Linked DNA regions of Homo sapiens: region 1 is linked to region 2. The links are contacts of gene promoters, found by promoter capture Hi-C in blood cells and fetal thymus (Javierre and others, 2016). All regions are on one chromosome and are shown on one strand. Each heading gives the region's core, a stretch centred on a gene start or on the middle of the fragment in contact. The rest is flanking DNA. Distances are from core to core; before and after follow the strand shown.

Region 1 (5,132 bases), core at 1,081-3,580, 690 kb before region 2:
TGTAACCCCAGCTACTCAGGTGGCTGAGGCAGGAGAATTGCTTGAACCGGGGAGGTGGCGGTTGCAGCGAGCAGAGATTGCGCCACTGCATTCCAGCCTGGGCGACAGAGTGAGACTCTGCCTCAAAAAAAAAAAAAAAAAAAAAAAAGGCCAGGTATGGCCAACTCACGCCTGTAATCCCAGCACTTTGGGAGGCCAAGGCAGGTGGATCACCTGAGGTCAGGGATTGACCACCTGCCTAGCCAACATGGTGAGACCAGCCTGGCCAACATGGTGAAACTTGGTCTCTACTGAAAATAAAAAATTAGCTGGGCGTAGTGGCGGGCGCCTGTAACCCCAGCTACCCGGGAGGCTGAGGCAGGAGAATCACCTGAACCCGGAAGGCGGAGGTTGCAGTGAGCCAAGATCATGCCATTGCATTCCAGCCTGGGTAACAAGAGAGAAATTCCGTCTCAAAAAAAAATTAAAAGAAACCATAAATAAGTTGACCACTCTGGAGTCCTCACAATTTGCCTCATACTCTTCTTGGGGCCTCACACACATTACCTCATTTAATGATATTCTCAGTACAGCCACCCACAATAGGTTTTATATTATCCTGTTGCCCAGGCTGGAGCGCAGTGGCGTGATCTCGGCTCACTGCAACCTCCGTCTCCTGGGTTCAAGCAATTCTCCTGCCTCAGCCTCCAGAGTAGCTGGGATTCCACGCCCAGCTAGTTTTTTTATTTTTAGTAGAGACAGGGTTTCTCCATGTTGGCCAGGCTGGTCTTGAACTCCTGACCTCAGGTGATCCACCTGCCTTGGCTTCCCAAAGTTCTGGGATTACAGGCATGGGCCACTGCGCCCGGCCATATTATTCTAATTTTACAGAAGAGGAAACCGAGGCTCAGAGAGGGATATACCTTACTCGAGGTCGCACAGCTTGTAAGCAGCAGTCAAGATTCGAATCCAGGCCCAGCTGACCCCAGATGCTCAATCTTTCCCTCTGCCATACTGCTAGACCTGGCCCTGAAGAGGCCTATGGCCCGCCAGCTGGTTACATAAACCACCGCACAAGGTCTCACGTGCTAAGTGCTAAATGTGTCATGTCTGACTCCACCCTTTCCCTCACTTCCACATCCAGCAGTCATCAAGTGTGGCTGAAATCGCCGCCGAGCTTGGGAATGGCTCTGGAAATCTTCCCTTCGATAGCTCAGGTCCTTGTTAACACTCACGTGGTCCAAGGTTATGGCCTCCCAGCTATCCCCTGGCCTCCAGGCTTACCTTCCTCCATCCAGCCCTCCTCCCCCTGAGGGTCAACGTCCCTAACCACAGTTCAGGACTATCACTCCTGGGCTCAAAACCTCCACTGGTCCCCACTGACTCTAGAAGAAAGTTCAAATTCTTCTACCAGGCAGTCAAGGGCTCTGGTCTAGCTCCAATCTTCCTTTTTAATCTTGCCTTGTGTTATCCTCTTCAAACACACAGTACTCAGCGTGAGCCAGGCGTGATGGCAGATACCCATAGTCCCAGCTACTCAGGAGGCTGCAGCTAGAGGATTGCTTGAGCCCAGGAGTTTGAGTCCAGCCTGGGCAATATATTGAGACCCAGTTTCTAAACAAATGAACAAAACCCCAGACACCCAGTGTGCTCTCCAGCTTCTACATGACCCACACCTTCATGCCTTTGCCTGTGCTGGCTTGTTCTGCCAGAAATGCTCTTTCCCCAAGCTTGTCAAAATCCCTCCAAAACGTTAAGATCTGACTCCAAGGCCACCTCCTTCTTGGCCCTCCCTGATCCACAGGATGAGAACGATCATTCCTTCCTCTGACTCATCAACCTTTTGTGCTCCTATGGCCAGCATCCACCTTACACAGCAGCAGAGACTCAGGTTCTCATGCCCTCAGCTGGGGATCCCTGAGCATCCGGGTCTTCTGAAATGGACTGCTGCAAATGCTAAGTTCTGCAGCAACTGGGGAGAAGAGTGTTGGAGGGAGTTGCACAGAAAGGACCATCCACTGAATGTTCCAGAAGGCAGCAGAGTACAGTAGTTAAGAGCACAAGATCTTCAACCTGATTGCCCGGGTTCAAATACAGCTTCACCTCTTACTAGCTAAGTGACTTGGGGCAGATTACTTAACTTCTCTGGACCTCAGCTGCCTCACTTGAAAAAGGGAGGTAGAGTGCCTACTTCAGGGTGTTGTTCTGAGGACAGAGTGGCCACATATAAGTGCCCTGAGGACAGGCTGGTGCACGGTCAGTGCTAAGCAAGTGTGTGCTGCCATTATTATCAGCGAAGCCCCAAGAAGGGAATTCCCAGTCCTGGGGGAGGGCTGACAGGGGCTGGCATAGGCACAGCCCCCAGACTATAGCCACTTTCCGGGTCCGTTTCCCATGTGCTTTTGGAAGATACGCAGGGCAGACAATCAGCCCCATTCTGCAGATGAGGAACTGAGCTTCCTTCAGATCAAGTGCCAGTGAGGGAATGGTAAAGACGCCAGAGCTCCTCAGCCCTGGACCATGGCTCCTTTCTCTTCACCAGACCGTCACTGTGCACCTGTTGAGCAGGCTCCCACGGCAGCCACCCCTTCCCAGCCCCCCATGCCGGAGGGCCTGTCCGCAGCACCCTCCCTTCCCCCACGTACACACATCCTTCCAGTGGGGCCGGGCACAGTAGACAGTGGTGTGCAGGCTTGGAATGCACTTGCACACACACCCCTAGAAGGGCCCAGTCCCCAAAGGTGAGGAAAACCTGTTCTGAGGAATCTGCCTAGTGAGCGAATTCTGTTCTGAGGCCCTTCCACCGTCGCAGGAGTGGGGCCCAGTGTGCGTCAGAGATACCCACAAGGGGGGCAGAGAGAGGGAGAGGGTGAAGCAGGAGGAGGCTGAAAACTTCACGTTTCTTTTTTCCATTTTAGTGACAAGAGTCACACCCAGCCTTTACATAAACATGGCCAAGGAGCCTCTCTGTCTAAGCTTACTTCCCTTGTGGCCGCCCAGCCTCTCCTCCGGGTGACCCTGACACGCTGGGCAGGCTCATGAGGGGCAAACATACAGACCCTGCAAAGATTAGCTGGGCCATCTGACAACACCCATGCCTCCCGCCGGCCTCCATGCGCTACCCTGCATTTATCTCCCGCCTTCCTCATACCAAATCCCCTCCGCAGCCCCACCGCCACTTAAGCACACAGACGGCAGGCACGCACACACAGCCTGCTTGCGGCTGGCCTCTTGGGTCTGAGGCCCACACTGCCCTTGTCACGCCACCTCCCTCCCCACATGTGTTTTCTGACCAGTTTGCCTCCCAGCTCAGCAGCCCAGACAGGCTCCTACAAACAACGTCACAAAAGAATCCTGTGGAGAATGTTGCAAACACACAACCTTCCCCTCGCTTGGCTGCCCATGATCCCATAAACACAACTGGCGCATTCCACCTCGAGCCCCTCACACCAGTGCCAACTGACCCACAGGCCCCTGAGACATACCCCGGGGTTCCTCGCTCCTCTCATGATCTTTGGGATCTGAGTTCTAGACGCGCAGCCCCCATGCAACGCGCTCATCACAGACACGCAAACCCATCCATCGCCCTCTTCACCACTGGACCACACCTCAGCAGGGCCACAGAAATGGGACCCAGACGTGACGCCTTCTGACTCAAAGGCCCACAACCGCCCCCTCCAAAAGGGCACATACACTGCATCCTGGCACCCTCCGCAACACATACAGCATGCCAGCTCTGCAGAAAACAGTTCATAAACAGGTCATAGGTGCAGCACAAGACACACATGCGAGAAAACACATGCTGTAGAAAACATACAGCCCCACATCGAACAAACTCTGCACCCAGCATGCTGTGCCCTGCTCAGAATACCCATCTGTCACCCAAAGCCACAGGGCTCGTCTTGTAACTCTGCCCCACAACACTGGACACCCTTCCTGGCTTTCTATCTCCATGGCCCAGGGAGGGCCCTACCCAGACCCCTGGCTGCCAGCAAACGGTGGTGCCCAGGAGAGGTTTACCTTGCCCCACCACACAGCACAAGACACACGATCTCCAAGACTCACAGCCACAACCCTGCCCCGACGGCGCGGCGGTTCCGGGGCCCCAGCTCGCCCTGCGCACCCCGCACACCCCAACTCTGGGGCGCTCGGCGGCCCACCCCTCCCCCTCTCTGCCTGGCTCCTACGCCATCACCCTCCCAGCAGCTTGCAGCGCTTGCCCGGGCTCACACCCGCCCCACCCCACCCCCAATCTGCCCCACGGGGGGAGGGGGCCATTAGGCTGCAGAATTAACCCTTCAAAGAGGGAGTGAGCACCTCCCCTTCCACGGCCCCAGGCGATCGCGTCCCACGGCCGCCCCTCGCTCGGACGCCATACCAGGGCCCCCTTAGTCGCCCCCCAGCGTCGTGCGCGCCCGGGGGCGGGGCCAGGCTCAGCCCCCGACCCCTGCGCCCCCAGGTCAACCCCAAAGGAGAGCGGTCTGGGCGCGGGGCGCGGTCGGGGCTCCCGCAGCGCCGGGCAGCGGAGAGGGGGCCTGGCAGTTGGCTCCGGTCCGCCCTGGCCCTGCCCAGTTCGCCCCAGGGCCCACCTGACTGCGATGGCGCCGCGTCCGCCAGGCCCGGCTCATCACCGTGGCCGCCCCCGGCCGCTCCGGTTTTGCCCGCCTCCAGCTCCGGCTCCGGCTCCAGCTCCGGCCCTGGCCCCCCCAGCGCCTGGCCCCGGCCCGGCCCCGCTGCCGCCGCCGCCGCCGCCGCTGACATCATCGGCTCCCCCCGCCCCGGTCCTACCCCCACCCCCACCCCCGGAAACAGTCCCCCCCCAGCGCCGCCGCCGCCGCCGCCGAGAGGAGGCCGGCGCAGCGCAGCCGACACCGACACAAAGCTCCGAGCGCCCGACGGCCTTCCCCAGGACTGACCCCCGCGGCATGACACTGCGCCGCGCTGGGCCACCGGGCGGGTGGACACCGAGCGGGGCGCGGGCCGGGCTGCAGCATCCCGGCAGGGGCGCAAGACCACCGACCCCCAGGGAAAGGGCTCCCTCCGCCCTTCCTCCTGCACGCCCTTCACTCAGCGGTGCACACTGCCTGAAAGCATAACACACAGGCTCTCAGGGTGCAGACATGACATGGCAGACTCATAATCAGGCCCGGTGG
Region 2 (5,076 bases), core at 2,194-4,693:
GTCCTGGAGAGGGGCAAGCATCCCCGTTTTCCAGCAAGTCCCATACACACATTGGCAGTGACTAGTACCCCCACCCTAAATTCAGGGGGGGCAGTCAGAGGAGCTGGGCAGTGATGGGGCAACACCCCCCAAATTGGGGAGGAGGGTTTTCAGTCCAACCCCCAGCAGGGGTGAGGCCAGAGATTTCAGGCAGGAATTGGGGGGATTCTCTGCCCTGCCCCACTCCTCCCCAAGGCAGTGATGACCCCCACACACACACTGGTAGCCACCCCTCTCACAAGAGATCAATTGTGGCCAACCCCCAACTCTCCTGGTGGGAGGAGGAGGTGGATCAGGCAGATGGGAGGGAAACCCCATGGGAATGTCAGTTGAGTACCCCACATGAAAACTGGGGAGCAGGAATGTAGGGAGAAACCCGAAGTGGCAGAATTATTGGTCCATCATAACATACTGAACTTCAAGACACTTACATACCAGCTGGGGGAGGGAGAGGAGGGTACAAGAGGTTTGGAAAATGAGGGTAAGGGAGGCAAACTGGACTAGAGGGGCTAGGAGGAGGCAATGCTGGGGACCAGAGCAGCCTGGTTCCCCAAAAGCCCAGGCTCCCCACCACCTGCGAGTAATGTCGTGCAAATGAAAATGTGATACAAGAACTAATGGGGACTAACTCCTCAGTAAAAAAAGAAACACAGGTTGAGAGAAGAGTGATGGAACAAAAAGAAATGGAAAGGGATAGCAGTATGTAATGATACGCTAATTAACATGCTGGACGCTCCCAAAGACCTTGGGATTCTTAGGACCAAGTGGGGCCAGTCTCAGAGCCTCCCAATGGATACAAAGAAGATGTACCTAAGGAAGCCTGGACAGGTGCTGTTGTTTTTTTTTTTTTTTTTTTTTTTTTGAGGGCGGGGCAGAGGGAGCATGACGGGGAGAGTGAGGAGGAAAGAGGAAAGGAAGGCCAGGGTGGGAGGAAGGATCAGCTAAATCTGAGGGAAGAAGAAGGAAAGGAGAGGGACTATTGCATAGCAGATGCAAATGAAGGGACTTGGGGCTAGTCAGGAAGAAAGGGAAAGGGAAGGAAGGCAAGAGAGAGGGGTGAAGGGAACCTCAGGAAGGGGTGTTAAGGACAACCGGAAAAATCATCTAGTAATAAAACTACAAACAGACCAAATATATATAATATTATATATGTATAAATAACAGCTGGCTATTTACAGGGGGACACACACACGGACACACACACACACGGATCCAGGGGAGTGGGGGCTGAAAGATATGGCTGAGAGGTGGAGGAACGGCTGAGGGTTGGGGGAGAGGCCCTTCTCTAGGCAGGGCAGACTCCTCGGGGATTTAAGTGCTGAAGTAAACTGTGGAGAGAGGGGAAGAAGATGAGGAAGAGGGAGAGGGGAGAGAAAGAGAGAGAACAAGAAAGCAGTGTGTCAGGCCTGGCCCTGCTCCAATCCTCCCCACTCCCCAGCTGGCTGACACCCTCTCTTGGACTCAGTTTTTCCATCTACAAAGCAAGGGGCTAGACAGGTAGGTTCTGAGGTCCCTTCCGCTCCATGGTATGGCCTTGAAGCCACAGACCCTAATCCTCTGAGCCTCTGAGACCGCAAGCTCTCAAATAATGGGGTGGTTGGCTTCCTGGTCATGTCTCAAGCCCCTGGTCCTTTCCTTTCTCCCACTCCTCAATTCCAGGGTTCTCAGACTGGGCTCTTAGGCCTAAAGGGTCCTCAATGGATACACCAGCTTTCCTATTTCCAAATGTTAACAAGACTGCCAAGAACTAGGCAAAATGCAGGCTAAATAACATCAAAGTTTTTGGCTCTAGATGAATCAGAATTGCCATTAGCAGCTATATGTGTTTTTGGCTGAAGAGTAAAAACTAGATTAATGACCTTCAAAACCTAGAATCCACTGGGGAAACCTCTCCAGGGAAAGGGCCCCGGCCATTCTCACCCTACTCACCTATGATGATGATGAGGATGATGGCGCAAATCACTCCCAAGATGATCATCATCTGGGGGTGAGAGGCGAGGATCAGTAAGACAAACTATGATACCCCATTCACCCACCTGTCCTCCTTCCTGTCCCCACCCTTACCTTGAGGTTTTTCCACCAGTATTTGCGCTTGAGCTTGGCTGCGCTTGTTTCAAACTGGGAGGCCCCCGCCTGGAGTGCATCTGCACGGTCGTCCAGCTCCGACAGCTTCTGGTCTCGCTCCAGGACCTTGTCCACGTTCACCCTCATGATGTCCACCACCTGGGAGAAGGGCCCACGAGGCAGGGGGGTGTGCCAAGGCCCACCTCAGTGAGGGCAATCCTCAAACATGTGCCCACCGTGCCACACATGGAACATGCACCCTGATACTGCCAGGTTAACATGCCAAGGACACACAGAACATGCCTAGCACACCTGGGGACATGCAAGGAGCACACATCAGGGGCATGCTGGTGACATCTCAGATGTCATAGCAACACCCTCCCTCTATGGAACCTCAGGCGCTCTGTCCATCACCAGAGCACACCTGCCCAGGCTGGCACACCCCAGGCTAGCAAAGCTGATTAACACCCCCAGCGCCCTTCCAAGTGCGTGCTGACAGGGAGACAGGGATGGGGCATGGTATCTTTGTCCGCAAACCCACAGGCGTGAACTGTCATCACTCCCAAACCAACATGGGCCCCTACACCTATACGCCAACCCCCAGGGTCCCTCCTACTGCTTTTGACTCCCCCCACACTCACCTCATCCACCTGGGCCTGGGTCTGCTGCAGTCTCCTGTTACTGGTGAGGTTTGGAGGGGGTGCAGGGGGACCACCCTCCCCAGCCGGGGCAGCAGGGGGGGCCGTGGCAGCGGTAGCAGACCTGAGGAGCAGGGACGGATTAAGACCCAGGGCCTGCAGCCTCCCGGCCCCGCAGCCAGGGCTCCGCCCATCCACCTGTCCATCCTCGTCCCTCCAGTCCTCCTTTTCGGGAGGAAGGCCACCCGATGTAAGCCCTGGTCTCGGTCCAGCCCTGCCGCCGATGAGCTGCGTGACCTTGAGCGAGGCCCCCCCGGCCTCAGTTTCCCCGCCTGTCAACTGAGGGCGACCTCACAGATGCGATCCGGGTCGACCCGAAAAGACAGGCGGCCGCGGTGACAGGGGCGGGGAGGGGCAGGAGGACACTGGGTCCGCTCCTTCCCGCGGCCATCGCCCGAGCCGGCCAGCCCGGGACGCGGGGCTCCTCGGCCGCCCGCGCGCAGTCACCGGCTTGGGCCTGGCCCCGGGGCGCGGGGAACGCAGGAGAGACCCCGGGCACTCCCGACGGCCGGTTGCCAAGGGCGGCGGCCGGCGCAGGGAAGCGCGGTGAGGGTGGCGGGCGGCCGACTCACATGGCGGGGGCAGCGGGTGGAGGACTTGGCAGCGGCAGTGATGGCGGCGGCGGCTCGCGCTGGCTCCGACTGGCGCTGGCTGCCCGGGACGGAAAGATGGCGGCCGCGCGTCACCCGCATCCGGGCACTGCGGGCGGGGGCGGGGCGCCGCGGGAGACGCGTCGCGAGCGGGGCCGCGGGGGCGGGGCGCTGCGGGGCGCTGCGGGGCGGGGGTCGTGCCGGGCAGGACCACGGGCCCCGCGCCACCATGCCCCGGCAGCTCCCTCGGCACTCGCGGGACCCCAAGGCGGGCTGCTGCGGCTTCCCCAAACCCACCGCCACCCCACCCTGTCTGACCACAGCCCCCCCAAACCGCCTGCCGCCTGCCCCTTAGAGCACAACGCAGCCTGGCCCTACACCTAACCCCCAGACCACTCCCTCAATCGTGAACCCAGTAAACCAGCCTGCACCCCACACAGCCCAAGGTCTTGCCCCGCGCCCAGGTCCCAGCACCTAGCGACCCGCCTTCAGCACTTGGAATGGGCTGGAGTTGGGAAATCAGAGAGGGCCAGTGCAGGTGCTGGGGCAGTATCGAGAGCGGGGACCTTACTGCTAGGGTGGAGAGGAGTGGGGGAGATTGGTCCCAACCCATCACCGCTGGTGGATGTCTCAGAGGAAGCCTGGGGTCCCTGGCCACTGGGTAGGAGGGTAGGAAGAAAAGATGAGGCAGGCTCTTCCCGCCCAAACAAGTCCAGGGGGCGGAGGACGGGGGAGTGTCTACAGGGTGTGGGGAGGGGGCTGCCCCGCCTCACGATTAAGGTTCAGACTAGGGGTACTTAACCGCTGGAGCAGGCCCGACTGAGGTGGGGTGAGCTGAGGACCCCGAGGAGGAGGGCACAAGGCTGCCGGGGGTGATGGGGGCAGGGGCTGCTTCACGTGGTGGCTGCTGACTGGCCAAGACCTAGCTTTGCCCCAGGCTTAGGTCAGCGACCCGACTGCAGGAAAGGGCTCAGGCTTTGGTCCCAGGCACAGGGCCTGGGCCAAAAAAAAAAAAAAAGCCTTTTTTCTTTTTCTCTCATTTTTTTTTCTTTAGTAGTAGGCACAGTGGGCACAGGTTACAAGGTGCTGCTTTACATGCGTATTCGCCTCGCAGGTGTGACCTTGGACCGTTGCCCTCCTCTCTCTGGACCCCAAATACATTGCATATGTAGGTACTAAATCCATATTTGTTAAATGGCTTGATGTGGATAACATAGGAGATTATCCCTGGCTGGTCTCCATTAGGCCCTCTAAGCACACCCAGCAGCTGTATACACTCCCACCCAGCTTGTCAGAGAAGATGGGACCAGGGGAGCTGTCGCTCTGGTGGAGTGCAGGGGGTCAAAGCAAGCCTCAAGGGTGCAGGAGGCATTTTAGGCGAGGCCCTTTGGCCCTGGGGTGGGGGTGCTTACTACATCCCTGGAAGGTGCAGGGAGGCTGATGGCCTTGATCTCTAAGACAAACAGGAACCAGCTTCCTCCCTCCCCCACCCTGGCTTCCCAGGGCCTCCGGGTGTGAGATCCTCCCCCACTGCAGTGCCCCACCCGCTCCCCACAGAAGCCCGGAGAGTGGCTCTGTCACCAGAGGTGTCATTTCCCAGCTGTCTGTGGGAGGTGAGTGAGCAGGGAATGTGTGTGCTGGGTGTGGGAACTCAGCCCAATCTAAGAGAAGATACTCTTGGCTTC

Evidence for each region. Contacts are between HindIII fragments. The CHiCAGO score rates a contact against its expected background, and 5 or more counts as called.
Region 1: a contact is called between a fragment that was not itself captured here and the fragment with the promoter of VAMP2 in region 2, in 1 of 17 cell types (total CD8 T cells). The highest score is 5.2, in total CD8 T cells.

The regions. Positions count from the first base shown.
Region 1 is chr17:7,474,888-7,480,019 of GRCh38, forward strand. ZBTB4 (zinc finger and BTB domain containing 4) reads right to left here and starts at 4,744. Exons shown (of 4, transcript NM_001128833.2): 1 at 4,569-4,744. RefSeq lists silencers at 4,051-4,100, 4,361-4,820, 4,841-5,100. The HindIII fragment of the contact is 1,246 bases long and covers 1,708-2,953 here.
Region 2 is chr17:8,159,505-8,164,580 of GRCh38, forward strand. It overlaps VAMP2 (vesicle associated membrane protein 2), which reads right to left and starts at 3,444. Exons shown (of 5, transcript NM_014232.3): 1 at 3,374-3,444; 2 at 2,745-2,865; 3 at 2,104-2,262; 4 at 1,969-2,020; 5 at 1-1,367. The coding sequence starts at 3,375. The coding sequence ends at 1,351. RefSeq lists an enhancer at 2,612-2,661 and silencers at 2,772-2,881, 3,172-3,361, 3,522-3,621, 3,752-3,811. The HindIII fragment of the contact is 9,788 bases long and covers 1-5,076 here.